Linked DNA regions of Homo sapiens: region 2 is linked to region 1. Evidence: promoter capture Hi-C in human tissues and cell types (Jung and others, 2019). All regions are on one chromosome and are shown on one strand. The core of a region is centred on a gene start or on the middle of the fragment in contact, and the rest is flanking DNA. Distances in the headings are between cores, read along the strand shown.

Region 1 (2,903 bases), core at 108-2,607:
AGAAAGGTTAACATCTGTTAAGGCCTTATATTTTTTTACGTAGCTTAAAATCTGTTGAAGGCTTACTATATGCCAGGCACTGCAAAACGCATTTTATAAGCTTTATTTTATTTAGCCTAACAATAACTGTAGGGGATGCAGACATGCATTAGGTATCTATCCTTACTGATTTTCTTATCAGAAGCAACCCAAATCTCACCTTCCTGGCAGGTAGATCATTATAGGCTCTTAGCTACTATTAATAATTAAATTATTTTCCTATGCAGTAGCTGAATGAATAGCAGAGACAACTATAGTTTACAATCAAGATTTTTGTCTAAACTTTTAAGAGAAAGTCCAGTTTTATTATTTAAAACATTTTGAAAAAAATTATAACATTTATATATCATCTTTTCCTCGATGCATAACACTTTTTACAAAGTTTAGTGGTAGATAAGTGAGGGGTAACTCAAATCAGAGAAACAGGGGTGCAGACGTTTGATTAACTTGTCTCATATCATAACTTTTCAAGATTTCATTATCATTCCACAACACTGCCCTCAAAAAAGAATTTTGTAATTACCATTGAGTGACAAAATACCAAGTAGTGACAGAGGTGTATAGACGAACTCAAAAGTTATTGTAGGAGGACACTGATAAAATGTTGGGGAAAATCACAAAAGACACGAGAAGATAATTTAGAGCTCTATGCCCAAATCACATGACTCCAGTCTCTGGCTCTCTTAGCCAGAACAGCGAATCTTTTACAATTTACCTCTTGTTGCCAATAATTTTCTATTATCTTCAAATAATAATAGGCTGGAGTATGAACCTAGTTTATCAATACTTTTTTAAAAAACCGACATTCCTCTCTTAAGGAGTCCATGCATTCTCCCCATTTTTTAGAAAATTGTTCCATGAAGAGGAATTAAGTTTATTCCTTTGAATTCTAGTCTGCATCCCAGCTTTTAGAACACGGGATGCAGAACCAGTTGATTTGCCACAGGCCAAGTCCTGAGTCTCCAGCGAATCAAGCAATTAACCAGTCACTTGGCCTTTTTGCAGAAATCCACAAAACGTGTAGACTCGCTTAATTCCATCTCCTCCTGGCCTCTTCACACGGAAATTGGCTGCTCGGGCGAATGTTGTTTTTCTCCGCAGCCATGTGTCGAAGGGCGATTAACATTCGCTCGACAAAACCCTGTCCCGGGCCATTTGGGAGTTGCACGCGTTCACACCCGGGGCTCAGCCCGGTGCGCCTTCACGCGCAGCCTTTTTGTTTATGCGGCTAGCAGGGAGAGGGGCGGAGAGGCAGCGAACCTCTCAATGTGCAGCAGGCCGCGAGGGCTATATAAAGCTCGGGTCTCGGACCTACTGGAACTGGTCAAGATTGCCCGCGAGCTGGCAGCGGCCTTCCGCCCAGCTCTGCGGCGTCATGGAGAACGCGGGAGGCGCAGAGGGTACAGAGAGTGGAGCTGCGGCGTGCGCGGCCACCGACGGCCCTACGCGGCGCGCGGGCGCGGACTCCGGGTAGGCTTCCCCGCGCTGCTCTGCGCCTCCCAGCTTCCCCCGTCTCTCCCTCCTGCGCCTCCCCAGCTCCTCCCCTCCAACTCTCCATCCCCCACTGCCCGGTGCCAGCGCTCGGCTTCGGTGGATTCTCCCGGGTCTGGGCTCACGTCTCCTCTGCGCGCCTTGTGCTCCCCTATCCCGCAGATACGCAGGCTTCTGGAGACCCTGGGTGGACGCCGGAGGCAAGAAAGAAGAGGAGACGCCGAACCACGCCGCGGAGGCGGTGAGTGAGCCACGCGTCTCAGGCCGCGCCTCCCACGGGTGCAGAAGATCGACCAGGGCTCTCGGGACGCAGGGCCTGAGAGAGACATGCGAGACACCGGGTCCTGCCTCTCGCTTAACATCCCGCCTGCCGGTGGCCATAAAGGTGCCGACGCGGCGGATGTGTCCTCTGGAGCGATGGGCCACAGGCACCCAGCCGGGAGCGAGGCTGCTGAGAGCCCTGGGGTTACATTCCCAGCGGGCACGAGGAACACTGGGTCGTGCACGTTTCCACTTTCTAGAAGGAGGTGGGTGATAACTGGATTCACTTCCTTTCCTCTCCAGATGCCCGATGGCCCTGGAATGACCGCAGCCTCAGGAAAGCTTTACCAATTCAGGCACCCAGTCAGGTGAGTGACAGGCCTCGCCGAAGGTCTCCCGCTCCTCCAGCCCCAGGGAGGAGCCAGGGGCATCGCGCAGCCCAGCTCCGCAGCTGGTCCTGCAGTCTCTCTCTCTCTCTCTGAAAATCTGGCTTCAAGGTTACTTATCTTCTCACTCATCAAATTGAAAAAGGTAGGGGCTCACGGTCCCACGTAAAGGGACTGTTGATGAATACATACTCAGTGAACTTGATGAATATATTACGAAGAGGGAAAGGGGATGATATGGTAAGAGAGCGGTGACATCTTGTGCTGGCAAAACAGTTTTTATTTTTAAATCCTAAAGGGTTCGAATGAAATTGACTTCGCATCAGGCAGAGTGTGTATGCTGCTTTTGTCTTGCAATCTGGAAGGAAGAATGGGATTAACAGTTACAGTCTTACAAGTTTGCCGAGTAGGAAAAAATAGAAATGTAATGAAAATCCTAAAGATTATTGAGAATGGTTATAGAAAGGGTCAAAAGTTTATTTAACTTGCGGAGCTAGTTTACTGTTCCTAGTCACAGGAAGTCAGCCTTTATCTAAGATTCTGTGTCACTTTTATTCAGGTGAAATGTTAAGAATTCTGCAGTTTTCCTGCCTCCGAGAGCTGTTAAATGAAGAGCTGGATGATGTTTGTAAAGTGCCCCTGGTCATAAATAACACATAGAAGTCATTACATCTAATTTCCTACCGTGTGCTAGCACTGGTGAAGGACACAGGAAAAAGTAGTCAC
Region 2 (2,839 bases), core at 116-2,615, 520 kb after region 1:
GGTTAGAGTCAGAGCTTTCCCTAATGGGCTATTGCTTGGGTTGTGCTTAGAACAAGGGAAGAGTCTTGGGGAATCATAACCATACTTTTTCTTTGAAAGTATCCATGGTCTCTCTAAGTAATTCTGAATGTTGGGGAATATGGAGAAAAACACTTTCTGACTCAATTTTTTTTCTACTTTATGTCCTCACATGTTTCTATTTCAAGTTGAAGAAAATAATTTGGTTTAAAAATCATTTCAAAATGATGTTACTTGTGGTGTAGGACAAATAAATCACCAGGGCCTCGACTTCTCAGAGACACTTTGGATGTGGATAGAATTTTGCAGACTTGCACTGTTTTTATCTTACTTAGATTATATGCAGGTACAATTTCATGTCTGTAACTACCACCAGTCAGTATGTTAACTGGACTGGCTCGATGCTAAAACCCAGCACACAGCTGTGAGCAAGGAGGCCACACAGTCCTTGTCTACAAGCTTGCTGCATCAGACTGTTTTATGAACCTTCGACACTTTTAGCACCTGACTGGTTTGCCATTAAAGTCAACAAAATTGCTTCTTAAACAATAATTTTAAGATCTCAGCTTTGCACTCTACATTGCCTTGTTCTTTTAATTTTCCTCACATTCCTTTTCAACATTTCTGTATGTAGTTCTGCTTTCTCTTATACTCTTTGCTCAAATGCTAGTTATCTCTCCCATTCGTGATTAGAACTTATTTCTTGAAGTCATCTTAACCTTTATTTAAACCAGCCTCTAAAAATTCTCAACACTGCTACCAAAGTCATCTTTTCTTTCTGGCTTTTTCGCTCCCTTAAATGTATTTGTGTAGTGTTCTAAAAAAAATTCAGTGGTAATGGCAATAGCAATTTATTCCTTACTATTTTTAAAGAAAGTTGTGCTTTTGGTAATAGCGAAAAATAGAAAACAACTTAAATCTTAGACCATAGGGAACTGGATTAATGGATTATGGTGTATAAACATAATTGAATCTGAAGCAACCACTAAGGATTATTTTAGAGGAGTTGTTAACAATTTGGAAAATGTTCACAATAAATTGAGGTGGAAGACTGTGTTAGAAAATAGTATGTGAGGTATCACCACACTTTTGTAATAAGAAATTTACATGTTTGTGTAGAGAAAAGGACTGCAACTACAGAATCAAAATGTTAATTATGCTTATCTCTGATTGATGGAATTATTGGTGAGTTCATTTTATTCTTTATGAGTTTTGTATGTTCTTCAAATATTCTACAATGAAAGTATTTACTTTTAGAGCCAGAAAAATTATTTTAGAAAATGGGCAAAAACATATCACTTAAGAAGTGGTGTGATATGGTTTGGCTGTGTCCCCGTCCAAATCTCATCTTGAATTGTAGTTCCCGTAATCTCCATGTGTCATGGAAAAGACCCAGTGGGAAGTAATTGAATCATGGGGGTGGTTCCCCCATGCTATTCTCATGATAGTAAGTTCTCACAAGATTTGATGTTTTTATAAGGGGCTTCCCCCTTTGCTTGGTTCTCATTCTCTTTGCTGCCACCATGTGAAGAAGGACGTTTGCTTCTCTTTCTGCAATGGTTGTAAGATTCCTGAGGCCTCCTCATCCCTGCAGGAATGTGAGTCAATTAAATCTCATTTCTTTATAACTTACCCAGTCTTGGGTATTTCTTCATGGTAGTGTGAGAATGGACTAATACATGGTGTTTGCCTTCTATTATTCTAAAACACTTATCTAAACTCAGACCTAAAAACTGGGCAGGTAAAATGGTGTCACACCTCTAAACCAAGGAGCAGATGAGAATTCTATATTATGCATAGCAAATGAGCCAAACATCTGGGATTCTAGGACACTTTCTGCTGTTGACACCAGTAGGTGATCTGATAACATTTAAGTCTACTTATGTTTCAACATTTCTGGAAATAGTCGCATGTACCATGTTTCCTCCACTCTAAATAAGACCTCCTGGCAGCATCTTTCATTAGATGTCATAGTCAAGAACATTAGCTCTTCTGTGTAAATCCTTTGGCTGAGCCCATCTCCTTCAGCTTCTTCAAAGTTTCACCTTAATCCCTTACTTTGTTCAGTATCCTTTATATTGGGTTATCTCATATCAACCTCAGAACTTTCTCACAATGACATATTTTTGAAACATCTTTCCTGTCCTGTAAGAATATGTTAAGACATTCCCATGGCTATGTGACCATTTTCAGCTCCCAGCCAGGCCCAGCTGTGTGCATGTAGGATTACCCTCCACTCAACTTGTAGCCCAGCCTGGCCAGACAAAGAGGAGAGAAAAGGCTGCATGAGGTTATCTGCAGGGAGATGTGCCTGAGGCAACTCCAGATAACTTTTGAGCACTTCCATGAGTGGGGCTTGAGTATGGAGAAGGAGGAAGAGGAGCAGCATGGTTGAGAGAGGTGCAGGCATGGCAGAGAAAGCTGTTTTATTTTTTGTCTTTTTAATAATAGCCATTCTAATTGGGGTAAAATGATACCTTATCGTGGTTTTGATTTGCATTTCCCTGATGATTAGTGATAGTGAGCATTTTTTCATATATCTGCTGTTCATTTTTAGGTCTTCTTTTGAGAATTGTCTATTCATGTCATTTTTCCACATTTTAATGAAATATTTGTTTTGCCTTGTTATTATTGAGTTGTTTGTATATTATTGTATATTCTAGATGTTAGTCCCTTCTCAGATGAATAGTTTGCAGATATTTTCTCCCATTTAACATGTTGTCTCTTCACTCTGTCAACTGTTTCGTTTGATGTTCAGAAGGCTCTTAGTTGCATATAGTTCAATTTATCTATTTTTGTTTTAGTTGTCTGTGCTTTTGAG

What was found. Contacts are between HindIII fragments. The study calls those that stand out against the background at their distance.
Region 2: a fragment that was not itself captured here is called in contact with the fragment with the promoter of RIPPLY2 in region 1 in 1 of the 25 tissues and cell types used here (lymphoblastoid cells).

What each region holds. Positions count from the first base shown.
Region 1 is chr6:83,852,003-83,854,905 of GRCh38, forward strand. It overlaps RIPPLY2 (ripply transcriptional repressor 2), which reads left to right and starts at 1,358. Exons shown (of 4, transcript NM_001009994.3): 1 at 1,358-1,509; 2 at 1,693-1,771; 3 at 2,095-2,159. The coding sequence starts at 1,415. RIPPLY2-CYB5R4 (RIPPLY2-CYB5R4 readthrough) reads left to right here and starts at 1,358. Exons shown (of 18, transcript NR_174604.1): 1 at 1,358-1,509; 2 at 1,693-1,771; 3 at 2,095-2,159. The HindIII fragment of the contact is 6,654 bases long and covers 1-2,903 here.
Region 2 is chr6:84,372,725-84,375,563 of GRCh38, forward strand. All of the region lies in intron 1 of LOC107986620 (a long non-coding RNA gene), which reads left to right. It overlaps LOC107986619 (a long non-coding RNA gene), which reads left to right. Exons shown (of 3, transcript XR_001744234.1): 3 at 1-130. Among named protein-coding and RNA genes, the nearest start is that of LINC01611, 100 kb to the right of the region's middle. The HindIII fragment of the contact is 4,858 bases long and covers 1-2,839 here.